Regions from separate parts of the Homo sapiens genome. Here all the other regions are linked to region 3. The links are contacts of gene promoters, found by promoter capture Hi-C in blood cells and fetal thymus (Javierre and others, 2016). All regions are on one chromosome and are shown on one strand. The core of a region is centred on a gene start or on the middle of the fragment in contact, and the rest is flanking DNA. Distances in the headings are between cores, read along the strand shown.

Evidence for each region. Contacts are between HindIII fragments. The CHiCAGO score rates a contact against its expected background, and 5 or more counts as called.
Region 1: a contact is called between a fragment that was not itself captured here and the fragment with the promoter of CCNQ in region 3, in 5 of 17 cell types (neutrophils, activated CD4 T cells, erythroblasts and 2 more). The highest score is 10.5, in neutrophils.
Region 2: a fragment that was not itself captured here is called in contact with the fragment with the promoter of CCNQ in region 3 in 16 of 17 cell types (activated CD4 T cells, total CD4 T cells, naive CD8 T cells and 13 more); the score reaches 19.4 in activated CD4 T cells.
Region 4: a fragment that was not itself captured here is called in contact with the fragment with the promoter of CCNQ in region 3 in 1 of 17 cell types (neutrophils); the score reaches 7.2 in neutrophils.
Region 5: the fragment with the promoter of G6PD here is called in contact with the fragment with the promoter of CCNQ in region 3 in 1 of 17 cell types (non-activated CD4 T cells); the score reaches 6.5 in non-activated CD4 T cells.
Region 6: a contact is called between the fragment with the promoter of RPL10 here and the fragment with the promoter of CCNQ in region 3, in 7 of 17 cell types (fetal thymus, non-activated CD4 T cells, naive B cells and 4 more). The highest score is 12.0, in fetal thymus.
Region 7: the fragment with the promoter of LAGE3 here is called in contact with the fragment with the promoter of CCNQ in region 3 in 4 of 17 cell types (total B cells, non-activated CD4 T cells, neutrophils and 1 more); the score reaches 9.6 in total B cells.

The regions. Positions count from the first base shown.
Region 1 is chrX:152,925,182-152,928,671 of GRCh38, reverse strand. ZNF185 (zinc finger protein 185 with LIM domain) reads right to left here. Exons shown (of 25, transcript NM_001395254.1): 13 at 11-97. LOC124905237 (a long non-coding RNA gene) reads left to right here and starts at 1,514. Exons shown (of 2, transcript XR_007068368.1): 1 at 1,514-1,753; 2 at 1,973-3,323. The HindIII fragment of the contact is 1,619 bases long and covers 1,007-2,625 here.
Region 2 is chrX:152,961,047-152,964,567 of GRCh38, reverse strand. It overlaps ZNF185 (zinc finger protein 185 with LIM domain), which reads right to left. Exons shown (of 25, transcript NM_001395254.1): 20 at 619-729. Among named protein-coding and RNA genes, the nearest start is that of PNMA5, 31 kb to the left of the region's middle. The HindIII fragment of the contact is 1,707 bases long and covers 836-2,542 here.
Region 3 is chrX:153,597,765-153,601,319 of GRCh38, reverse strand. CCNQ (cyclin Q) reads left to right here and starts at 2,181. Exons shown (of 5, transcript NM_152274.5): 1 at 2,181-2,358. The coding sequence starts at 2,247. LOC105373383 (a long non-coding RNA gene) reads right to left here and starts at 1,980. Exons shown (of 1, transcript NR_131982.1): 1 at 1,427-1,980. RefSeq lists enhancers at 1-168, 169-670 and silencers at 1,811-1,950, 2,051-2,100, 2,111-2,470. The HindIII fragment of the contact is 8,000 bases long and covers 1-3,469 here.
Region 4 is chrX:152,824,659-152,828,107 of GRCh38, reverse strand. CETN2 (centrin 2) reads left to right here. Exons shown (of 5, transcript NM_004344.3): 5 at 178-1,114. The coding sequence ends at 267. Among named protein-coding and RNA genes, the nearest start is that of CETN2, 4.4 kb to the left of the region's middle. The HindIII fragment of the contact is 1,450 bases long and covers 526-1,975 here.
Region 5 is chrX:154,544,545-154,548,095 of GRCh38, reverse strand. G6PD (glucose-6-phosphate dehydrogenase) reads left to right here and starts at 1,250. Exons shown (of 13, transcript NM_001360016.2): 1 at 1,250-1,307; 2 at 1,933-2,060. The coding sequence starts at 1,941. IKBKG (inhibitor of nuclear factor kappa B kinase regulatory subunit gamma) reads right to left here and starts at 476. Exons shown (of 10, transcript NM_001099857.5): 1 at 351-476. RefSeq lists enhancers at 89-368, 1,671-2,214 and a silencer at 809-1,368. The HindIII fragment of the contact is 7,888 bases long and covers 1-3,551 here.
Region 6 is chrX:154,396,852-154,400,021 of GRCh38, reverse strand. It overlaps RPL10 (ribosomal protein L10), which reads right to left and starts at 1,645. Exons shown (of 7, transcript NM_006013.5): 1 at 1,628-1,645; 2 at 1,480-1,525; 3 at 626-684; 4 at 428-535; 5 at 81-219. The coding sequence starts at 1,502. It overlaps LOC124905228 (a long non-coding RNA gene), which reads left to right and starts at 1,180. Exons shown (of 2, transcript XR_007068356.1): 1 at 1,180-2,437. RefSeq lists enhancers at 1-100, 101-644, 645-1,190, 1,513-1,722, 1,735-2,280 and silencers at 2,283-2,352, 2,423-2,602. The HindIII fragment of the contact is 9,726 bases long and covers 1-2,705 here.
Region 7 is chrX:154,477,419-154,480,878 of GRCh38, reverse strand. It overlaps LAGE3 (L antigen family member 3), which reads left to right and starts at 1,598. Exons shown (of 3, transcript NM_006014.5): 1 at 1,598-2,151; 2 at 2,468-2,596; 3 at 2,821-3,104. The coding sequence starts at 1,964. The coding sequence ends at 2,935. It overlaps PLXNA3 (plexin A3), which reads right to left. Exons shown (of 33, transcript NM_017514.5): 33 at 3,100-3,460. RefSeq lists an enhancer at 1,224-1,723 and a silencer at 1,985-2,204. The HindIII fragment of the contact is 14,076 bases long and covers 1-3,460 here.

The DNA of each region.
Region 1 (3,490 bases), core at 567-3,066, 670 kb after region 3:
ACCCCCATACCTCATGCCTTCCACGTCTGGGGCCACCAGGCGGAGTCCTGCCCTGGGTGTCAGGATCTGCAGGCGGACAATTTCCTCACCTCTTGAGCTGCGGGCCAAAGGAGAGACCCAGTGGGTTGCAGGTGAGAAAAGTCTCCCCCTTCTTGGGCTGGTGAGTGCGGTGGGCCGCCCAGACCCACTGCCCCCTTTTGATGTGCTCTCATCTCCTCCTTGGCCTTGAGCCTTGTTGGTGCTGCAGCTGAGCTCGGGCCACTGACCTGTAGGCCCCTTCCCCGGTCTCCCACCCCTGACCTGAGCCCAGCCCTCCCTCAGGCACAGCAAGGGCCCTTCTGGGTAGAAATGAAACCTCCCAACCCGTGCTTCTACCAACCATTTGCAGGGGCAACCGCAGCCTGTGACCCCACCAGGGTATCCAAAGTGGCCATTTGTGAGGCCAGGGGTAGTTCTGCATTCATGGACTGGTGGGGACTGAGGGGTACGAGAGACTGAGAAAACCCACAGACCAAATATGGAATGAAAACCAGTGGGAGGGGATGTCGCAGACTCGGGGATGAGGACAAAGGGCCCCTTTGAGCTTTCCTCTTGCCAGCCACGCTCAGAGCCCTCCCCCAGATGACCACAGGCCACCCCGGACACACATCCCTCCAAGTCTGATGCATTCTCTGGCCGTACTGCAAGGCATGACGCCCAGCAGGCTTGGCCATGGTGTGGCCAGGGCCAGAGAGAATATAGAGCTCCCAGGCTTTCTGGGGGTGGACCCTTCACCCCAAACCAGACCTCCTTAGGTCCATGGAGCAAAGCCTAATTCCAAGCCACATTGCAGTCACTCCTGCCTTTGTCCCTGGGCCCTGGAAGTGCAGACAAGCCTGAGCCCCAGGCCTGCCCTGGTGAAGCTCTGGGCCCAGCAGGGTCAGGCAGGGGCAGAGAGGCATGGAAACTGACCTTGCTGTGCTGCAGGGCCCAGAACAGGTTTAGCCATGGGAGCAGTGGACAAGCTTCATGGAGGCATAGCCCGACCCAGGCCAGCTGAAGGGAGATCGGGGGAGGAGGAGGAGGTAGAGGCTGGCAGGGGTCCTGAATGTACAGACTAGATCTGGTATGGCAAAGGGAAGATGCAGGATGGGCTTGAAGTGGAGGTGGGGGGTTTATAGGTTCAGACTGGCACTTTAAAGAGGCCACTCAGGGGTCCCAGGAGGGGTAGGGGATGGAGTGGCCAAGGTGAAAGCAAGGAATGAGCCATGGAGGGCTGGGTCAGCGGGCTGCTCATCTCTGTCCCTCCACTTCCACCCTGGCCAGGGCCTGGAGTGCTCAAAGTGACCAGAGGGAAATGGAAGGGCTACCAAGGACAAGGCCTCTCCCATCATGAAAGCCAGGAGGGGCCCTAGACACACAGACAGCTCTGACTTCTCCCCATCTCCTCTCGTGATAACGACGATGACATCGTTGTTGAGGATGATGTCATTTATGATGACAGTATAAAACCCCTGGCTGCCTCATTTAAATCAGGTGGTGCCAGGGAACAGGGATGTCACAGGCAAGCACAACATATTTTCTCACTGGCGTTTCTGGCTCTGTCACAGAGGAAATGGGAACAAAGTGTCACCCCAGCCTGCTCCAGTGACTGATGTCAGACTAGGGCAATGTGGGCAGACACAGAGGGAAGACGGCTGCGCGAAGACAGAGGCCGAGATGGGAGTGAGGCGGGCGCAAGCCAGGAAACACCAAGGATTGCAGGCAACAAAAGGTAAGAGAAAGGTATGGAACAGATTTTCCCCCAGAGCCTTTGGAGGGAGCATGGCCCTTCCGACACCTTGATCTCAGACTTCCAGCCTCCAGAATTGTGAGAGGATAAATGCGTGTGGTTTTAAGCCACTCAGTTTCTGGTACCTTGTTACAGCAGCTCCAGTAAACTAATACAAGGGTCTCTCCTCCCCCACAACCCGCTACCCCACCATCTCCCCAGACTCTCAACCACAGACAGCTCCAGTCCAAGCTGAAGTCCAGGACCACGCTGGAAGGCTGCACACCCTTGGAAGGCACCCAAGGAAGAGAGGCAGGCATCTGCTGAAGCCTGAAGCCCAAAACTGATCACAGCCACCTGTGGGAATGCGACCAACTGTGGCCTGTGCCAAACAGTGTGTGACTCATTCTGCCAAAGAGCGAGGAGGCGGGGATGTGGGGCGAGGGGATACCTCCTTTTCACTGCCTTTGGCCACATTTCCCTCAAATGCCAGCAGGTGGAGATATTGATCTCTTCCTGTATTTGAATAAGGGCCCTGCAGCTCAGCACGCCTATGACTGGGAGCCCCCGAGGATACCAGCACCCAGGCACTGTGGTAAGTACTTCAGGTGCACGATCTCATTTAGCATTTGGGACAGCCTTGGGAAGTAGCTATTACTGCTCTCCCTATTTTATCCACGGGGAAACTGATGCATGGAGAGATGAAGAGACTTGCTCAAGGTCACACAGTCAGTCTGATGCAAAGCCAGGGTTTTGTCCTGTGCCAGAAGCTGTGCTCCTACTCCCTGCTCCCCAGACGCTCTGCCAGGCAGCATGCTGGGCAGAGCCTAGGACCGGGACCCAGGAGGCCATGCCCTGGTCAGGTGAGGCAAGCTTGACCAGTGCTTCGGGTAAAGCAGCCAGGCCTGGGGGCCGAGAAGGGGTGCATGTGTAGAACCAGTTTCTCCAAGAGAGGGTCCCTAAACTGGGTTCAGGTTGCAAGGGGGGCAAGAGTTATGAGGAGCTGACCTTTGCACTGTAGCTAAGGGAAACAGGGCAGGGCAGGGGGTGGGGAGAGGGTAGCCTCGATAGGTCTGTGCCTGGGGACAAGGCTGTGACATTCTCCTCTTCCACTCTGCCACAAACCAGCCTTTTCTGAAGTGCTGCAGGACCCTGAGTTTGATTGAGTCATTGTTCCTCACGGGCTGGGCTTCTCAGACACCAGGCAGATAGGAGCTGGGCCTGGGAGTACTGATGGTGGCTGCTTGGTCCAGTGCAGCACCTAACGTGGTAGGGTCAGAGAAGACGGCCCTCCAGGGTCAGGATCAGCCAGCAGCTTTCCTGGAAGCTGCCTGGGTGAGCTCCAAATATTGAGTGACCAGAATTGGAGGAAAGAACTATCAGAAGCATCAAGCTGAGCCTCCTGTTGGGAGCTTGCCCCGGACCCTGAATCTCTAGCCTTTATTTGTTATGGCAACCTGAGCAAACTTAAAAAGCCACCTTGCAATGACAACCATATGATGGGGATTAAACATCGAAAGGAATTTTGTGGAATAAATGTCAAAGTGCCTTTTAAATCTATAATACAGCACAATCTAATTCTCCTCCATTCTTTCTCTCTTTTTTTTCTTGTTTTAGAGACAGGGTCTTGCTCTGTCACCCAGGCTAGAGTGTAAGGGTGCGGTCACAGCTCATTGCAGCCTCAAACTCCTGGGCTCAGGCAGTCCTCCCACCTCAGCCTCCCAAGTAGCTGGGACTACA
Region 2 (3,521 bases), core at 440-2,939, 640 kb after region 3:
ACCATCCCCTTAGTGAAAAGTGAGTTCTCATTCAGTTAGTTCACACAAGATCTGGTTGTTTCAAAGTCCGGGCCCTCCCCTTCCTCACTCTTGTTCCTGCTCGTGCCATGTGATGGTCCTGCTCCCACTTCGGCTTCCACCATGATTATAAGCTTCCCGAGGCCTTTGCCAGAAGCCAAGCAGCTGCTGGTGCCATGCTTGTGCAGCCTGCCAAACTGTGAGCCAATTAAACCTCTTTCCTTTATAAATGTCCCAGCCTCAGGTATTCCTTTACAGTAACACAGGAATGCCCTCACAGGCCCGGCCTTCACGGACTGGAGCTGGCTTCCCAGGCATGGACCCATGAATGGCAGAGCCACATCCACTAGTGCACTAGGAAGTACCACTGCAGCCTCTTACAGAGATAGGAAAAAGGAGGTGTGGGAATGTCTAGGCCCGGTAGATGGGAGTTTATATTAGGGGACTAACACTGTCCTGTGTGGCCCCTTGGCTAATGGCCTGCTAGAAACTGGGGAAGGCACTAAATGGGAAGCAACATGGAACAAAAGCCAAGTCCTTTACCGCCAAGGAGGAAGTGGCGGAGGAACATCTCCCAGGTTGCTAGATAGCCCTTCTTACGTGGTAGAGCTGGAGTCCAATTCACTTGCGGGGGCTGGAATATAAATGTGAGGCTGCTCAGATGTGGCAGTGACAGTAACAGTGACCATGCAGCTCGAGGGGCTCCTCACCCTGAAAGAAATAAAGGGAGGGGTGGGCACGTCAACCTGGGAGCTGACACCTTCCAGGGTCAAACAGGCTTTTCTGAGCCTAACCCTTGAGCACTGCTCTTGAAGCTTCCTCCAAGACCAACAAATGGAACTTCTCACTTTACAGATAAGCAAACCCAGGCTAGGTGAGTTGAGACATGTCCCAGGTCACATCGTGAGTCAGTAGCAAGACCCCAATCTTCCAGTGTCCACTCAGTACTCCTGACTGCAGCCAAGGGCCTTGGCCTCTGTGATTCACTCAGTTAGAGTGGAATCATGGGGCTCCCGGGGATGTGACAGTCAGGAGGGTGCAGAAGGGGAAGACACAGCCCAGCTCACCTCCTCACTGGATGGGACGGTCCCTTACTAGGATCAGCTCCTTCTGCCACCCTGCAGGGAACTCTCTAGAGAACACAAGGCCAAGGGGCAGAGGACCAAATGAAATTAGGCATCATTGAGGAGGAAAGTCAGATGCACCTCATTCCCAGCAGAGGCGGGAAACTGACCGGTGTCGAAGTTTTTCTGAACCTCCACACTTCAGCTGCCAGATATGGCCCTTGGCCTGGAATCCAACCTCCTCGGCAGCCCAAAAGGGCTTTTCTCTGGCCAAGCCAATATCGGCTCTCACTCTGCCTGCCCCCAGGCTATGAGCCTCATTACCAAAGCTGCCGTAGCTGTCAACTGCAGTTCAGGGCACGATGTTGGGCAGCACCACTGACCACTTGTTTGCACCTTCCAACTTAAGTCTGCTCACCCTCCAAAGGCCTGAGGCCAGCACTATGGGTGCACACTGCCCTGGGCTGATTCTGGCTTTTCTCCAACATGCTGTGGCTCAGATCATACTCCAGATATGGCTGCCTCCATCTGGCCCAGGCTACTGGGTATTGTCCCCTTGCCAGAGAATCCAATGCCTAAGATTACAACTAGTTGAAGAGTGGGGAAAGGGAAGAACAATCATGGTCTAGCATCTGCCTAGCTCTCTCGCCTCATAGTCTCAAACTGTATCACGTGCCACTCAAGCCGTACAGACCAGCCTGCAGTTCCCCTGGACTTCCAGGCTCTCATATGCCTTTGCAGACAATATCACCTCCTCTGGGAAGCCCTTCCTGAGGGCCTGCCCTCCTACCTCACCTCAGTGTACCCAATCATCCTGTACCTGTTCCTGCTTCACCCTATGACAAAGAAATATACCATAGAGACTGGAGAAGGTGGACTGGATGGGAGAGGAGGCCCCACAAAAATCTGAAAAGATACACGGGGGATAAAATGCAGAGCCAACAAGTGAGAAAAGGATTGATTCTAAGAGGAAGGAAGGAAGACCTCCTACTGACTGAACAACTACCAGGTGTCTGGTATCCTGTGATCCATGTCAGCAGAATACTGAAGGGGACGGCGCAACTGAAGAGGCAAGGTAAAACAGAAATTCCCTGGAGCTACTTGGGAAGCTGAGGCAGGAAGATCACTTGAGGCCAGGAATTCAAAAACAACCTGGGTAACACAGTGAAACACCGCCTCTTAAAAAAAAGAAAAAATGCCCTGGGCATCCCCCCAGGACTGCAATGTGAGCAATAGGAGCCCTCCCAATAGCCTCCTCTCCCTCACCTACAAGACCCTACAGGGCCCAGCTCCTGCCCCCTGCTCACCTCACCCCGTACCCTCCAAGCACAGGGCTCATTGTTCAGGCCCTCCTCCCTATCTTCTTTGTCCACAATGCCTCTCCCCAGGTTCTTTGGAAGGCAGGCTCCTCCAGATGTTTCAGGTCTCAGCCGAACTGTCTCCTCCTCGATAGAAAAGCTTTCCCTAACCATCCTTGCTCTAACCCCTCTCCATCAGAGCACCTGGTTTCTTTCCTTCCTGGGCTTATCACAAATGGAGGGGCAGTATGGATGCCACAGCGATGAACAGTACAGGCTCTGATCTCTGTCTGGATTCTAATCTCGGTTAGGCCACTTCCTGGCTGCAAAACTGCCAGCAAATTACTTAACCTCCATCTGCCTCAGTTTCTCCATAATAAAAGCACCTCCTTGAGTTGGTGTGAGAATTAAATGAGTGAGTCCACATAAGGCATGCAGAACAGTGCCTGCACATTCTCAGCACACAGCAGGTGCTAATGGTTATTACGATCATGCTTATTCCTTAGTGGACTATGTGCTCTTTGAGGGCGGCTGGATGGGGCCTTAGCCATCGTGTTCACTGTGTACATGGCTGCTCACAGGAGGCTCTTAGTATGCAGCATCTCTAGCCGGCGGCCCATGGCTCCTGGTTATTCCCAAACTCATGGCCACTTTGGGAAAAAAAAATCTCTGGGGAACAAAGGGAGCTCTCAAAAGACACGTGCACCTTCTTTCACCATCATCAACTGCAGCTCCAGGCAGTGATAAAGCAAGGACCTCTGGCCTCACACAGAAAAGGACCAGAGGGAAACTGAGGCTGGCTGCTGGCATGCATCCCATGTGTTAGGTTTGAGAGACCAGAGCCAGGCTGAGGAATGCAAGAGGTCAGCAAAAATTTTCTTTGCTGAGTTCCTTGGCAAGATAAAGCTAGCACAGCCCTCTCCTCACCCTGTTCCTGAAGCCACCCTATCAAAGCAATGGATCATGGCAGGAGAGTGAAGGCAGAGCCAGAATACTTCATTGGCAGGGACAAGATGAGGAAAGACTGGAAGCTGGTCAAGGGAATGACCTGGAACTGGGAGACAGAGAGAGCACAGAGATCACAGCAAGGCAATGGGTCAAAATCAGTTAAGTGGACAGGACGATCGCCACAAAATACCAG
Region 3 (3,555 bases), core at 932-3,431:
TGGGGGAAGCTGAGAGGCAGCAGCCTGATCCCCCAAGGCCCATAGCTGCTTTAGGGAACATGGGCTTGAGCCTTCCAGATCTAGCTGTGGCTGGTCCAGCCCAGGGCACTGTCTGGGGGAACACAGGACCTGGCCTCCACCAACGGGGCTGAGGGGAGGTGGGCCCTCTGGGCATTGCCTAGGTTTCAGCCTTGGGCTGGGGAAGAGGGTGGGGCTGCTCACAGCTTGCAGACAGACACGGTGCTCAAGGCGTGGCAGGTGTCAGCAGCACAGGGAGCTGGGGACCCTGAGTCAGTCCACACACGCACACATATGCACACACACGTGCACACCCGCGCACATACAGACAAGAGCAAGCTGGGTGATGGAAGTGGAGTGGTAATTCCTTCACCAGGCAGAATACGTGCAGAGACGTTCAGCCAGGAGACCATAACCTTTGGGGGACCTGCCGAAGGTCTCTGCCATGAGGCAAAGTGGTGAGATCCGAGGCTGGTCAGTTGATAGGGTGACTCCACAAGGACCAGCATGTGAGGTCAAGGCCTCACATTTTCTCCTGAAGGTGAAGGGACTCCGGAGGGTGTTAGGCAGGGCAGGACCTGTTCAGCCTCGCCTTTTAGAAAGCTCGCTCTGGCGGCTGGTATTGTGGGGTGAATGCCAGCCCCCAAAAGGTGTGTCCGTGTCCTAATCCCTGTTACTGTGACCTTATTTAGCAGAAGGGCCTTTGCAAGATGTAATGAAAATAAGGATGTCAAGATGAGCTCCTCCTGGATTATCTAGGTAGGCCCTAATCCAGTGACAGGTGTGCTTATAAGAGACAGACGAGAAGACAGGGAGAAGGCCATGTAGAGACGGAGGCACAGATTGGAGTGATGGGGCCACAAGCCCAGGAAGAACTCAGGCTGCAGAAGCTGGAAGAGCAAGGAAGAACTGATCCTCTGCCAGAGCCTTTGAGGGAGCAAAGCCCTAGTGTCACCTCCATTTCAGGTGTCTGGCCTCCAGAATTGAGAGAGGATATACTTCTGCTGTTTTTAGCAACCCAATTTGTGGTCATTTGTTACAGCAGCCCCAGGAAACTAACCCAGCTGGGATGGAGAGAGGACTTGGGGAGGCTGGTGGAGGCAGGAAGTGCTGAGGAAGGAGAATGAGGCCGGACTGGGTGTGTGGGGTGGGGGTAAGAGGTGGAGACTTCCACACCATCAGGAGATCAAGGCGCCTGGGCAGAAGGGTTTAGGGAGCAGTAGCTTTTTCCTCTCCATATTGCCAGCTGTCTGAAATTGTAGCAATGATCTGAATGTATCAGAATGACTCCAGTGACTGTCACTAACTTGGGAGTGAGTACCTTTGGGGTTCTATGTCCCTAAAGCCTGATGCACCATTTCCTGCTTGTGGAAGACGCGAATGAAAAATGAGATGGTAAATACCTGAGTTCGATATTCAGCATTCATTCAGCAAACATTTATTAGGCTCCTACTGTGCGTCGCGCTGGAAAGGCAAGCAGAAGCTAGATTCCCAATCGATCCCGGGAGGCTGGACGATCCAGACACAAACACCGTTCATGCGTCTATTCGAAAAGGCCCTCTTGGAATTTTGTGCACAGCATTTCCTTGGGGTGTCGATGGATCGGGGTCTGCAAACATTAGCACCTTTTCCGGTGGCCGCTGTCTTCTCAGACCTCAGACACCGGCGCCTCCCCGTGAACTCCCGCAGGCGTCCCTAGCCCAGGGCTTGGCGGGCGCTGCCGGTTGTACCTGGCCTAAGCCACGCTGGGCCGACAGCCCGGGGCGACACCCCCTTCGGACGGCGGGGATTTGCGGCTCGGGTGACCGGAGGTGCCCTCCCGCGGGTCTCGGAGCAGCTCCGCGGGCTCTCGCTCCGCGGGGAGGAGCCTGCGTCTCCCAGGGGCGGGGCTCGAGGCGCCTAGGGGCCGGTGGACACATACCAGCCGCCCCGTGGTGTCGGCCTCTGCGCCTGCGCCTGCGCCTGCGCGCGCGGCCAGGCAGCGTCTGTGGCGCAAGCGCGCGCTCACCCTTGGGCGAGGGCCCTGAGGGGCGGGGCGGGGCGGAGGAGCGGCGGGGCGGCGAGGGGCGGGGCGGGGCGGCGAGGGGCGGGGCGGGGCGGCGAGGGGCGGGGCGGGGCGGGGCCGGACGCGGCCGGGTGGGGCGGCAGCGCCCGCCGCGAGCACCTCCAGTTCTGCCGGCTTCTGCGCGCCGGGGCCGCCTCTCCTTCCGCCGGTGCCGCGGCGCCTCATGGAAGCCCCGGAGGGCGGCGGAGGGGGGCCTGCAGCGCGGGGCCCGGAGGGGCAGCCGGCGCCCGAAGCCAGGGTGCACTTCCGAGTGGCGAGGTTCATCATGGAGGCAGGTAACCGCGGCCGGGGGAGGCCAGGACAGGCGGCGCCGCGGCCCGCTTCGCGGAGCGGGCCCGGCTGGCCAGGCCGGCCTTCTGGAGTGCTCACCGTAGCAGAGGCCGGGAAGCCCTGCTCGGGGCTGAGGACCTCCGCCTTTGCGCCGCGCCCGGTGTGCTGAGCAGTGAGCCGCGAGGTATCCCCATGGCGTGGACCGGTGTGCAGGCCCTAGGAGAGGACGTGGCCGGGTTGGGCCTCCAGCGAGGCGGAGACCGGCCCGGGCGCCCGCAGCTCTGCGCAGTGCGCCACGCCTTCTGCCGGCACCCGCGGCCCTGCACTCCGGTAGACTTTATGGCGCTTAGTCGCGCGGAGCCTTTTGGAGAACGCTGTCCGAGGGTTCCTGTCACTCCGGGGACCTAGGCTGCTTGCAGCTCCTGTTCCGAACCCTGCCAGGACATCCACAGTAGTGTTGGGCTCCGCGCTTCCCAGGCGAGGTGATTAAGCTAAGATCTCTGTAGAAACATCGTTTCCATCCAGCCATCAACAGTATTTTTTTTTTTTTCGAGACGGAGTCTCGCTCTGTTGGCCAGGCTGGAGTGCAGTGGCGTGATCTCGGCTCACTGCAACCTCCGTCTCCCGGACTAAAGCAATTATCCTTCCTCACGCTTCCGAGTAGCTGGAATTACAGGTGTGTGCCACCGTACCCGGCTAATGTTTGTATTTTTAGTAGAGACGGGGTTTCACCATGTTGGCCAGGCTGGTCTTGAACTCCTGGCCTCAGGTGATCCAGTTGCCTCGCCCTCCCAAAGTGCTGGGATTACAGGCGTGAGCTACCTCGTCCGGCCCATCAACAGTATCTTGATAGGAGATACTGTTAGTTGGCGGGTAGTTATTTCCTACCTTTACTGCTTGGGGGAGAAGGGTTGGGCAGATGTGCTTTCTACCCAAGGTGGGCGGAGAGTCTGAGGACTGCTGCAGGACTGTTCATCCCAGTGATATGTAAATTTACTGTAATTTGCAAGAAGAGTTGCAAAGTTATTATTAGGGAAGGATGGCAGTGACACCTCATCTGCTACCGTCTGCTCGGAGGGTCCGTGTAAATTGGGGTTTGCTCTGTAAAACAAAGCTTGGAAGGTCATGTCAGTAACAGCACCTTATCTGGCATCTCCTGGAATGAGGGGTCCCAGGTAGGAATTGTCTTTATATAACAAGTT
Region 4 (3,449 bases), core at 1-2,500, 770 kb after region 3:
ATCATGCATATAATCCCAGTACTTTGGGAGGCTGAGGCAGGAGGATCTCTTGTGGCCAGGAATTTGAGACCAGTGTGGGCAGCATAGAGACCCCATCTCTAAAAAAAAAAAAGTCTATTACTTAGTCACCTTTTGGCATTAGTTTATAAATTAACCTGAATCTTTACTGTCATATAGGAAATGATTGATGAAGCTGATCGAGATGGAGATGGAGAGGTCAGTGAGCAAGAGTTCCTGCGCATCATGAAAAAGACCAGCCTCTATTAAGATCAGTGTCTTCTTTTTCTACTGCAAGCACATGTAACTAGATTTAGTGCCTGCCATGGTGTGAAATCTGGCTTTTGAGAACACAAACTTTTCCCCCACGGACCTCCCTTTATCACTTTAATAGTGACCTTGAGCCTATTTTAGCCGTTTGGAAGTGTTCTTTGATATTACAGTTCTTTGTAAAATGACCTGCGAATTACCCTAATTCTCAAAAGCAAAACAAGAGCACACAAGCGTGAAGAAAAGGATCTTAAAGCTTTGAGCACCTGCCATTTTGCCTTGCATCGTTTCCCTCGTCATGCATTTCCACATATCCACAAACACAGAACGACTTTAGACAAGCACATGTTACACCTGTGTTGCCACAAGCAGTCATTCTTGACGGCTCCAGTTTTTATTTGACACTTGAGTTTAGTTTTCTCTTTTATAAACCCAGTGAACTCCTGCACTGGCATTTGGATGTGTGTTAATGCTATTTGTTTTGTCTTAAAAGTAAAACCTTTCTCAGTTTGAACTTGTATTCTCTAAGGATGAGTTCTTTAGCTTTGCTTATGAGTTCCTCTTCTCAATTATTGTGTTGAAGGCAGCCTATTAGATACAAAACTCCTTACCAGCCTATGGACAGAAAATGAATAATCCTTTGCTACTTTCCTGGCATGAATTGCTTTTTGCCTTGGAAGGCTGCTGGTTTGTAAAACTAGCAGAATTTTTATATCACCTAAGCCTAAATGATGCTCTAAAAATAGTTTTGGCAAAGCTAAGACTGGAAAAGAGTCTTGTTAGTAATTTGTGCTTGAATAAAATGGGGAGAGCCAGGCTAACGCAACACTAGGATGGATTCAGCCAACCTCTCGTGAATTTATTTGCTTATGGTATCTCATCGACTCTTGGAGGTGGGTTGGGCTGAGTGACCCCATCCAACCATCTTCCTGGCCTTGCCCGGGATTCCCTGTGTGAGAAATCCTGGTAGATGACATTAAAGTCTCTGCTCCAGGGTGAGAGTGGGGAGGCAGAAGGGGTGAGGGAGAATAGAAAATGAACAATGATGGAATGCTCGTTTGTTCACATGGAGAGGGAGAAAACAGATTTTCAAACTTCTGGGGGTAGGCTAGTCCTCTGGGGATAGGGTTGCCTGATTCAGCTAATAAAAAGAAAGTTGAGGTAAATTTGCATTTCAGATCAATGATGCCTTTTTTTTAGTATGACTATATCCCATTTGTATTTTTTGTTTATTCATTGTTGATCTTAAATGCAAATTTACCTAAGCATCCTGTATTGCCACTGGTAACCCTACCCGGGGAGCACGTTACAGAGGCCAGAAGCCTGGCCCTCGGTCTCATGCCTCTGGACCCTGACATCCTGTAGGACTTGGGGGCCCAGGAATATGAAGTTTACCATATCCCCCAGATGAGTCTCATGCCGAGGGACTGCTCCTTAAGAAAAACTTGGGGGAAGAGCCCAGACTAGCCCAAACCCTGGATTCTCACACACACCCACTTCCTCATCGGGCAATTTGGGGCAAGCTACTTCTCTAGGTGCCTGGAGTTTGATGTCTGTGTGATGGGGAGAAGAGTTGTGCCTACTCAGAATCACTGGAGGTGAAATACAAACTTACAGAGAGGACCTGGCTTGAAGGTATTCAAGAACAAGAGGATTCAGAAGTGTTCAGTCTTACTCCCATTCTTTTGCTACAGTTATCACATAAGCTTTGTTGTTAAATGTGGGTCCATGAAGCTTTTATCATTACTGTCCCCAAAGTGTGTTGATAGCATTTCCTAGGAGGATTTGACCTTTGTTGTATTGTGATTTTCTAATAAGAGGCATATGATTGGATAAAAGACATAATATTGGAAAGGAGTGAAAAGACTGGGCCCTGCCTCCAATTTTACTGTTAACTGTAACCCTGGAAACACTCTTTTGAAAAAAAGTTAATTAAACGAGATCATGTCCTTTGCAGGGACATGGATGGAGCTGGAAGCCATTATCCTCAGCAAACTAACCCAGGAACAGGAAACCAAACACCACTTGTTCTCACTCGTGAGTGGGAGCTGAACAGAGAGAACACGTAGTTACAGGGAAGGGGACAATATACATAGGGGCCTGTCGGTGGCAGTGGGGGTGGGGGTGTGGGGGGAGGGAGAACATCAGGATAAATAGCTAATGCATGTGGGGCTTAACACCTAGGTGATGGGTTGATAGGTGCAGCAAACCACCGTGGCACACGTTTACCTATGCAACCAGCACGTCCTGCACATGTATCCCGGAACTTAACTTAAAAAAAAAAAAACAGTTTCAGGGATAAGGAAAAAAAAGTTAATTAAAAAGAAGTTTTGAAATTGACAACATTGTATATATTTATGGTGTACAATATGATGTTTTGAAAGATGTATACATTGTTGAATGGCTAAATTAAGCTAATGGACTATCCTGGAGACATTCTTATCTCCTCCTGCTTAATATTCCCATAAATGAAATCTCTCAGGAATCTCTTGAGACAGGACGGAGAGTGGCAAGTAATAGGTTATCCCTGAGGATAAAAGCAAACATAAGGTCTTTGCCTGGCAGCCATTCTAACATAGGTGTGCAGTTATTCAGTGGAAGGATGGGGACAGAGAGGGAGCATGAGTCAGTGGGGCTGGACCGGAGAGCTGTAAAGGGATCAGGAAGATGGGGACGGAGAGGGAGCATGAGTCAGTGGGGCTGGACCAGAGAGCTGTAAAGGGATCAGGAAGATGGGGAAGGAGAGGGAGCTGGGCTCAGTTCATGTGGAGGCAGAAAAGAGTCCTGAAGGCGGGGGAGGATGTGGATGGAGAAGTAACTGAGGTCAGTTCACGTGGGGCTGGACCAAGAGATGAAGGGAAATTGCAGAGGATAGGGACAGAGAAGTAGAAAAGATCCGTGCATGGGGTGTCCCGGAGAGGTGCAGGGGAGCAGGGGTAGGGGGAAGGGAGTGAGAGGGAGCAGGGATCAGTTCATGTGAGGATGCAGCTGAGTTTTCATGGGAGTGTCAGTGGGTGGGTTTGTAGAGTTAGTGGCTTATTCATGTGGACAATAGAGTTGTGAGGGAGTGAGGGGAAATGACAGTTCATGTGGGGCTGGCCCAGGAAGCTGGAGGGGGATGAAGTGGCGATGCACACTTAGAGGGAGCAGATGTCAGTTCATGTAGGCTGTACCAAGAGATG
Region 5 (3,551 bases), core at 1-2,500, 950 kb before region 3:
AGATACCTAGCTGCCAAACTATATGTGAGGCATTTCCGAAGAATTTAACGACCTCGATAGAGCGCAGTCAAGTTTGGTGAACAGAATATGTCTCTGAACTAGAGGAGTCCTCACACAAGGAGTAGGGTCAGACCCCGCAGTGGAGGAGGAGGGAGGAGTAGAAACAGTCCAGCTCGCCGCCCAAGTAACCTGGGTCCTGAATCGGCCCGCCTTGGCCAGTGCTCCAGAAGCGCGGAGCAGGAACGGGCTGGGGCCCAAAAAAGAGGGGGGAGCCTGAACGTCCGGGGGAAGTTTCGGAGGCGGCGGAACGCCCACGGATGGAACCCTGTCTTTGGGGAAAAGGACCACACCTGTCAGCAGAGTCCGTCAGACGTGAGAAGGGTGGGAGCGGCGGACTGTGAACGCTGGTAGGGCCCCGGCGCTCCGAGAAAGTCCCAGTTTCGCGGTCGCCCTTCCCTACCACGCTTCCGGCTTCCGGTGTCATAGCTGTGGGATCCGGAAGTAAAAACACAAGCCCCGCCCCCGAGAACTCGGGAAGCCGGCGAGAAGTGTGAGGCCGCGGTAGGGCCGCATCCCGCTCCGGAGAGAAGTCTGAGTCCGCCAGGCTCTGCAGGCCCGCGGAAGCTCGGTAATGATAAGCACGCCGGCCACTTTGCAGGGCGTCACCGCCTACACGCCCCCTCGTCTCTCGGACGGCGGCGTCTAGCCTCGGGGCGCTCGGCCGCCCCGCCCTCTCCGGGGGAGGAATCAAGAAGAGACTGCCCAATAGGGCCGGCTTGACCCGCGAACAGGCGAGGGTTCCCGGGGGAGTGGCGCGGCAGAAGGCCCCGCCCAGGAGCCGAGGGACAGCCCAGAGGAGGCGTGGCCACGCTGCCGGCGGAAGTGGAGCCCTCCGCGAGCGCGCGAGGCCGCCGGGGCAGGCGGGGAAACCGGACAGTAGGGGCGGGGCCGGGCCGGCGATGGGGATGCGGGAGCACTACGCGGAGCTGCACCCGTGCCCGCCGGAATTGGGGATGCAGAGCAGCGGCAGCGGGTATGGCAGGCAGCCGGCGGGCCGGCCTCCAGCGCAGGTGCCCGAGAGGCAGGGGCTGGCCTGGGATGCGCGCGCACCTGCCCTCGCCCCGCCCCGCCCGCACGAGGGGTGGTGGCCGAGGCCCCGCCCCGCACGCCTCGCCTGAGGCGGGTCCGCTCAGCCCAGGCGCCCGCCCCCGCCCCCGCCGATTAAATGGGCCGGCGGGGCTCAGCCCCCGGAAACGGTCGTACACTTCGGGGCTGCGAGCGCGGAGGGCGACGACGACGAAGCGCAGGTAACCGGCCGGGCGGGCGCCGCGCAGGCGGAGGAGCGTACTGTCCCGCGCTGCGCCGCGCGGCGGTAAAATACACGCTGTTTGTTGTGCTTGAGAACCGAGCAGAATCGAGAGGGTCTTAACCAATCCCTTTATACCCCGCACCTCCTCTCTTGAGCCCCTGAGACCCCGAGAGCGAAGGGGACTTGCCGACCGGGGTCACCCAGCTTGGCAAGGGGAGGGCTGGAGCTGAACTCCAGCATCTGCACCATCTCCCATGCTCCAGGTCATTGTGGAGTTCCCGCTACAGTCGGGAATGAGATGGTCCTGGGCACGCAGTTCCATGCCCCACAAGGATTTTACTCGGTTGTCCAGAATTGATGCTGTAGTCGGAATACACCAATGCTTTGAGTAATTTTGTAATGTACACCCTGAATGAAGGCTGCCTAGGAGAGAGTGGCTGGAGCCCAGAGCCAGCAGTTTCTAACCCATCAACCACTCCCCAATGCCCAGCCGTTCACAAGGAGTGATTTGGGCAATCAGGTGTCACCCTGGTGTGAGACCCCAGAGGAACTCTCAAGAAAGGGGCTAACTTCTCAATGCTCTCCTGTTCTTCTGCCTTGTTAACGAGCCTTTCTTCCACCAGACAGCGTCATGGCAGAGCAGGTGGCCCTGAGCCGGACCCAGGTGTGCGGGATCCTGCGGGAAGAGCTTTTCCAGGGCGATGCCTTCCATCAGTCGGATACACACATATTCATCATCATGGGTGCATCGGTGAGTATCTCCCAGGCCCCAATCTTAAAAGCCAGGAAGTGCCTGCTCCATGCCTCAGCTTTTCCAACTAATTGTTGCAGGGCCCCACAGGCTCTGCTAAGTTGAGCTCCTCCTCCCGCTCCTGCTAGTGCGCCAGGATCATCCCGGCTCTACCTGGTGTGCATATGCACTTGCAAGACTTTTTTTTTTTTTTTTTTTTGGAGACGGAGTTTTGCTCTGGTCGCCCAGGATGGGGTGCAGTGGCGCCATCTTGGCTCACTGCAACCTCGGCCTCCTGGGTTCAAGCGATTCTCCTGCCTCAGCCCCCCAAGTAGCTGAGATTACAGGCATGCACCACCACACCCGGCTAATTTTTGTATTGTTAGTAGAGACGGAGTTTCACCATGTTGACCAGGCTGGTCTCAAACTCCTGACCTCAAGTGATCCGCCCGCCTCGGCCTCCCAAAGTGCTGGGATGACAGGCATGAGCCACCACGCCCGGCTGCAGGACGTTTCTGAACCCTGTGCCTAGCCGCTGAATGTAGCCCTTAATCCTGGAGTTGCAGGCTCTTTAGGGACTGTCTAGATGGACTTCTTGGGGAAAACAGGGAATGCTATTCATTCTGTAGTTTTTTCAGACCTGTTCATGCCTTAACAAATGAGTTCCAAAGGCAGGATCTGAGGCCTGATCTCTGCCTCTTCACTAACACTTCAAGTTCCGTCGATACAAACACTTAGCTTTTCTTTGAACACTGTCTCTTTGCCTCAATTTCGAAAGCCTACCAAGGAGCTCTGCCTCACCCCACCTGGCCCCAATTGTCCAGCTTGTAGAACCGCCATTCTGCACTCATAGGAAAGACAAAAGAATAGTATAGCATGAGGATTTCCATGGGAGGGGAGGGAGGGGTGGTCCTAGGACAGCCATCGCCCGAGACTAGAGCACCCTCCCCTGTGTCCCATGGGGCAGTGAGACTGTGCAGGGGCTGGTGGAACAAGGGCTTCATCTCAAATTACACGTGGTCTCAGTTTTCACTTTTAACCCTGGATGCACTCAAGAATCTCTCTGCTCATTACTGTATGACCATCTTTGCCATTAACTTACCTTGTAACCTTGAGCAGGAGCTCTATCAAAACTAGTTAGTTCTTCCACATCGTGCGCCCCTCAGTGCTGGCTGAGCTCAGTGGTTCTTTGTTCACATAGAACAACGCGCTGTCACACTTTGTCAAACCTACTCCTTGACACCTTTGTACTTCTGATCAGAACTTAGAAAAGGAGAGCCAAAAGGGAATGAGGAGGCAGCCGAGGGAGAAGGGCTCTGCCAGTGGCAGAGTAAGGAGGGGCCATTGTCCTCTGACTCCCCATAAGCCTGAGACCCAGGAGAGGTACCAGGTGGAGCCCACAGTAGATTGGGCTTGGCCTCAGCCCCAGCCCCAGCCTGGTCCCCTCAGAAGAGCCATACCTGGCCGGGCACGGTGGCTCACGCCTGTATTCCCAGCACTTTGGGAGGCCGA
Region 6 (3,170 bases), core at 396-2,895, 800 kb before region 3:
ACCTCTATGCTCTGATAAAATAATGCAAGCCTAATAATGTAGAGACTCCAACTGCCTTAAAAGGCCCAGACCAAGCTCACCTGTCAGCCCCAGCACAGGACAACATCTTGTTGATGCGGATGACGTGGAAGGGGTGGAGCCGCACCCGGATATGGAAGCCATCTTTGCCACAACTTTTTACCATGTACTTATTGGCACAAATTCGGGCAGCCTCCAGGGCTAGGTAGGGAGAAGAAAAGCAGCAAAGTGAGAGAAGATAATAGAGAAACATTCACCACGACTATCTCCAGCTCAGGGGAACTGTGTTGGCTGAGTTTTGTAAGGCTCATGTTTCATCAACTCCCAATTCCAGTGCAGTGTATGTGGGTGGGGTTGAGGGAGCACGGAGGAAGGACTGGGGGGTGACGAACAAAGAATCCTGCCTTACCTTCAGAGGACAGCTGCTCATATTCATCTGACACCATGTGGCCACAAAGCGGAAACTCATCCACTTTTGCCTTTTTCCGCCCCAGGTCAAAAATGCGAATCTTGGCATCTAAAAGGATTGGGTAAGTGTGCAGGGGGTGTCACAGACGGACGCGGAGTCCGCAGAGCCAACCAGTGCAGGGGCTCTTCCACTACTTACCAGGGACACCTCGGCAGAAGCGAGACTTTGGGTACGGCTTGTTCTTACAATACCGGTAACTGCAGGGGAGTGAAAAAACACAGGTTAGGTGAGGTTCACAGAAAGCCCAACAGGCACTTTGCCCCTCAAGGAACAACCCAAACGAGGGACGGGAAAAGGGTGGGGAATGCACGTCCACTTCTAAACCGTTTCCATTCGGGGAAATAAACTACAAAGCAACAGTTGGCTGCTGCAACACAGACAACACCCAAGACTAGAAACAACAGACACCATCTTCCGTTACTTTGTCTTACGCTTCCTATAAACACTTTGCAACAAACTTTCCTAGTTAAAAATTCTCTCTTCAAGACACTGCGTACTACAAAATCGCCGCATTATCATTGCACAGCTCAGGTCACCCAATTTAAGACTTTCGGGCACGTGGCACTAAATCCACCTCCAAGCCGAGTGGAAATGCGTCTGGCGCCCCCTGTAGGACACAGGAGGCGGCCGCACCCGTTTTTCCCGGACTGCCCTTCACGTCCGACAACGCACGCGGCACGTCGCCCGGAAATAAGACAGAGAACGCACACAAAGGCCCCAAGAGCGTATCTAGCGCCCGAAAATGCGGTGAGCTTGCAGGACACAGGCAGAGATACGAGGGAACCGTCGCTTCCACACCGACACGGGAACGAAGGAACAGACAGTAATATTGCAGACTAAAAAATAGCCGGGAGGTGTAAAACATAGGGTCAGTTCCCAAGACAGGGCCGCCGCACGGGGGAGGCTCCACCCCACAATTGTTTTCAGCGGCCATAGGCACTTCTTTCCCCGCCCGTTTCCCAGCAGTGAAAGTACACGGATTCAAGACTCACCAACGGGCGGGGCGGCGGCCCATGGCGACACCAGGATCTTCAGTGGCTGCAACGAAAAAGAGAGAGTCGGAACGGAAGACGAGAACAGACCTAAAAGGTGTGAGAACCAGCAACGGCACCGCAAGAGACGACAACTGCGCTTACTCACCACACCGAAGGGAAAGAGGCGCTCCTCCGCCTGCGCATGGCTTATATAGGCGGTCTGTCTGCGCGCGTAAGAACCATAGAGTCCTGTCGAAGACGGGTGGACGCTCTGTCAGACGTCATGACCATAGACGCAGCCGCTCTTGGCGCTTGCGCCCGGGCGTAGCCCAGCACATGCGCAGATCAGAGAGGTGACCGGGTACCAGGGCCGCGGGCGGCCAGCTGACGAATGGGGCTTCGCCACATGGTCGCGAGAAGCCCGCTTCCGGCTGGCCATCTTGGGCGTAGAACTCTTGCCCTAGGCTTTGCCGTTAACTGTGACAGACGTATATTTCTGAGAGTGGAAAAAAGGAAAGTACCCTAGGTGGGCCTCCCGGCGACCGCGAGAGTGTCCCTGAGCTTGCACGGGTCTCGGACACGCGCTCCGTGCCTCCTTCTAGGCTAGAGGCCCCGGCGGTGAAGCGCCATACGGGGATCTGGGCCCGCGTTCCTTTGTCAACCCGGGAGGCCGGAGGGGGAGACCCATTCCCCTACCGGAGAGGCTGGACCAGGCCTTGCTGGGAGCCATGCCCCGTATCCCCGTTTCCTGGAGACCCAGGGTTCGCACATTGCCGCGGGGAAGAGGTCGAGGAGAAATCTCCACGGAGACTCATGGCCTGGGAAACCCCGGGGCATCTCTAGCCCCGCTCCGCCCACCCTGACCCGCACCGTCCCGACCAGCTGCGTCTCGGGCGCCGCCTCCCATGAGCCGCTCTCGCCTGGGCACCGCCCCACCTCGCCCTTCCCACTCCACTGTGCTCAAGAGTCCCTCCGGGTGCGTCTGGGGGTCGTGGGGAAGCAGGGCCGCCCCCACCCGCCCACGGGGCAGCATCCGGGGAGAGGTGCGCAGAGCAGGCGGGCGTCCTGGGGGAAGTGGCATCTGGAGGTATCTGTCCACCATTCTGCAGGTGGGGCGCGGTGGGGTAACAAAGTCTTCCCGTCCTTTGACAGGAAGGACGGGAGGAAATCCTGCTCGAGCGCACCTGTTTTCCAGGATGATATGTCGCTTTTATAAATGGCTGCAGGTCCCTTTGAGAAAAGCTTGGGACGATTTCTGGGGTGCACTTGCAGCAGTGGTGCAAGGTCCTTCCCAGGGGAACCTAGCCTCCCTTTCCATCATGGGACTCTGGATGCCGGCGGTGACTTAGGTCTGGAAACTGGGTTCGAGGCTGTAACACCACTGGGGCAGTACAAGTCAGGAATTGCGGCGGAGTGCCGTGGCTCACGCCTGTGATCTCAGCACTTTGAGGGGCGGAGGTGGGCGGATCACTTGAGCCCAGGAATTTGAGACCTGGACAACATGGCGAAAAACCGCCTCTACAAAAATTAAAAACTAAAAATTGGCTGGGCGCAGTGGCTCACGCCTGTAATTCCAGCACTTTGGGAGGCCGAGGCGGGCGGATCATGAGGTCAGCAGATCGAGACCAGCCTGGCCAACATGGTGAAACCCCGTCTCTACTAAAAATACAAAAATTAGCTGGGCATGCTGGCTGGTGCCTGTAATCCCA
Region 7 (3,460 bases), core at 349-2,848, 880 kb before region 3:
GGCTTCCACAGCAGACTAGCAGTGGAGAGCGAGAAGTGGGCTGATGTGGAACCTATTTCAGAGGGAAACCCAACAGGATTTGCTGATATAGTTCAGTGTTTAATCCTTCCTTATGACTGCAAAGGAGGAAAATAGGTTGTCCAAACATGACAAACACTGTTGGAAATTTTATGTCACTTTATTTATTCATTTTTTATTTTTATTATTTTTCTTTTTGAGACAGTCTCCCTCTGTCGCCCAGGCTGGAGTGCAGTGGCGTGATGTCGGCTCACCACAACCTCCACCTCCCGGGTTCAAGTGATTCTTCTGTCCCAGCCTCCCGAATAGCTGGGACTACAGGCGCACACCACGACACGCAGCTAATTTTTGTTATTTTTAGTAGGGCCGGGGGTTTCACCATGTTGGCCAGGATGGTGTTGAACTCCTGACTTCAAGTGATCCACCCGCCTCGGCCTCCCAAAGTACTGGGATTATAGGCGTGAGCCACCGTGCCCGGACTGATGTCACTTTAAATACTTTTTTTTTTATTGTAAATGTCATAAAAGACCACTTCGGAAAAATTGGAGGGAAAACACAAAAAGGAAATTAAAGTCACCCACCATACTATTAGCAGAGATCATGAGGATTTACCTGACGCTGTATTGTTCTAGGATTTCTCTACATATGTACAGTAAGAGACTAAGTTGGCATTTTCTTTTATTTTTTGAGGCGGGGTCTGGCTCTATCAACCAGGCTGGAGTGCGGTGGGGCGATCACGGCTAACTGCAGCCTCTGCCTCCCGGGCTCAGGCTGTCCTCCCATCTCAGCCTCCCTAGTAGCTGGGACCACAGGTGTGCACCATCACACCCAGCTAATTTTTGTATTTTTTGTAGAGGCAGGGTTTCACTATGTTGCCCAGGCTGGTGTCGAACTCCCGGGCTCAAGCAATCAACCCTCCTCAGCCTCCAAGAAGCTATGACTACAGGCACGCTCCACCACTCCCAGCTAACTTTTAAAATTTATTTTTGTATTTTTTGTAGAGACGGGGTCTCACTATGTTGCCTGTGTTTGTCTTGAACTCCTGGGCTCAAGTGATCCTCCTCCCTTGGCCTTCCAAAGTGCTGGGATTCCAAGCGGGGGCCACTTTGCCTGGCCTAAACTGGCATTTTCATACTCATAGTTGTGCAGTCTGATTTTTCACGTTATATTAGACCTAGACCCACCGCCAGTACTTTCATTCAAGGCCCTGTCATTTTTCGCCTCCGTGCAGGCCTCCTGCTGACAGGCTCCCCCGCTCTGCACAGCCCACCCGCTCTAAAATGCTTCCTCTAAAATGCACATCCGATGCTTCACAGTCCATGGTGAAGCCCCGTTGGTTGGGCACTGGGGTTGAGGGCAAGAGCAGTATCCTTGGGGGTTACCCGACCCGGCCACCCTCCCTCTGCGAATCGCAACATGGACGTTGTGCCACATCTCCTGGGGCTCTTGGGTCCAGGTAAGAAACGGGGCGGGAAGCCGTCCAGGCACCGCAGGGCCTCACTGGGGCCTCCAGGGACAAGGGGGAAGGCCCCGCCAGCGCAGGCGCGCTAAGGTCACAAGGCGCGCTTAGGGGCGGAGCCTCGCGGGGTGCGCCTCTGGGATAGGCGACCACGGTGTCTTCAAAAGCCCCGTCAGGGTTGGCTTCCTGGGGCCGGACCGACTGTGGGTCAGTTTGCACCAGCGCTCTGGAATCGAGTTACGCGCGAAAGGGCAGAGTTTCTGGAGGAAACCGCAGCCTCTCAACCGCTGACCGGGTCTCAGAAGGCCCCCGGCAGGGCCGCTTGGCGGGAACTGACCACGCGCCAGTCAGGCTCTCCAGGGACCTGCGCAGGCGCGTGTGGGCGGAGTCGTGCGCAGGGGGCGGGGCTTCGGGAAGGAGCCACAGAGAGGGCGGGGCGTAGGACCTGCGCTTCGGGGGTGGAGTCGGAGCGGCGCGGCGGCGGTCATGCGGGACGCGGATGCAGACGCAGGCGGAGGCGCTGACGGCGGGGATGGCCGGGGTGGCCACAGCTGCCGCGGGGGCGTGGACACAGCCGCAGCTCCGGCCGGTGGAGCTCCCCCAGCGCACGCGCCAGGTCCGGGCAGAGACGCCGCGTCTGCGGCCAGGGGGTCACGAATGCGGCCGCACATATTGTATCCTTTCCGAGCTGGGGGCTGCTTGCGGCGGAGCGAGGGCTGGACTCGGGGAGAAGGAAAGGAGGGCGGGCGGGGGGCCGACGGAAAGGGTAGCAGGGGGGGACCGGGGCTGGCGTATACGGTCAGAGGTGGTCGGAGGAGGGGAAGACATTGAAATGGAGGGAGAAGCTCTGCTAACGGTGGCCTGGGCGAGGTAAGGAGTGAAGGGGGTGACACTAGGCAGGGTGACCTGAGAGGGGGCTTCAGAGGAGCAAGAAGGCCTGAGACATAGGCAAGATCGTATCAGATGGCACCTTAACCGAATGACCCCCAGCACCCTCAGCGTGCCTTTCCCGACCCCCTTGGAGGCGGAAATCGCCCATGGGTCCCTGGCACCAGATGCCGAGCCCCACCAAAGGGTGGTTGGGAAGGATCTCACAGTGAGTGGCAGGATCCTGGTCGTGTAAGTTCTGAAAGGGACGGGGTTGGGGGAGGCGGCCCATGGAGACATGGGGGACATCCAAGGATGAGCCCTAAGGAGCGCCAGGTGCGCTGGGCCGGTCTCTGCCTGAGGGGCTGTGTAATGGCAGGGCTCCCAAGGGTTTGCTATATTGGGTGCCTGAGGGGCAGAGCGAGGGACCAGGAGTTGCCACCTCCAATTTGATTTTCTTTTCCCCTCACTTTTAGCCGCTGGAAAGCTGAAGACTGTCGCCTGCTCCGAATTTCCGTCATCAACTTTCTTGACCAGCTTTCCCTGGTGGTGCGGACCATGCAGCGCTTTGGGCCCCCCGTTTCCCGCTAAGCCTGGCCTGGGCAAATGGAGCGAGGTCCCACTTTGCGTCTCCTTGTAGGCAGTGCGTCCATCCTTCCCTAGGGCAGGAATTCCCACAGTTGCTACTTTCCTGGGAGGGCCTCATGTTTTATCTGGTTCTTAAATGTTTGTTACTACAGAAAATAAAACTGCGCTACTATTCCAAGTCTGAGTTTATTTGCAGCTGGGGCACCTCCCAATATTCTTGTTGTGCTTGGGTTGCTGGGGGGGGGGTTCTAGAATTCAGATATTCAAGGAGTACAAGGAAATTGAAGACAATTTAGGAAATGGAAGAAAATGAAAATCAATTGGGTTCTGTCATTCAGGATTAACTACTGTCAACATTTTGGAATACTTCCTCAGTTTTACAGTTGCACTTACATAGTAAATGTGTAACTGTAATATACACCACATAATATTTGCAAGTTTAGTGTTAAATTTTTTTCCTGATTTTTAAATCTAACATGAGCTTTTTTCCTCTAACGATCAGTGAAGAAAGTGCTGGGGCAATTGACT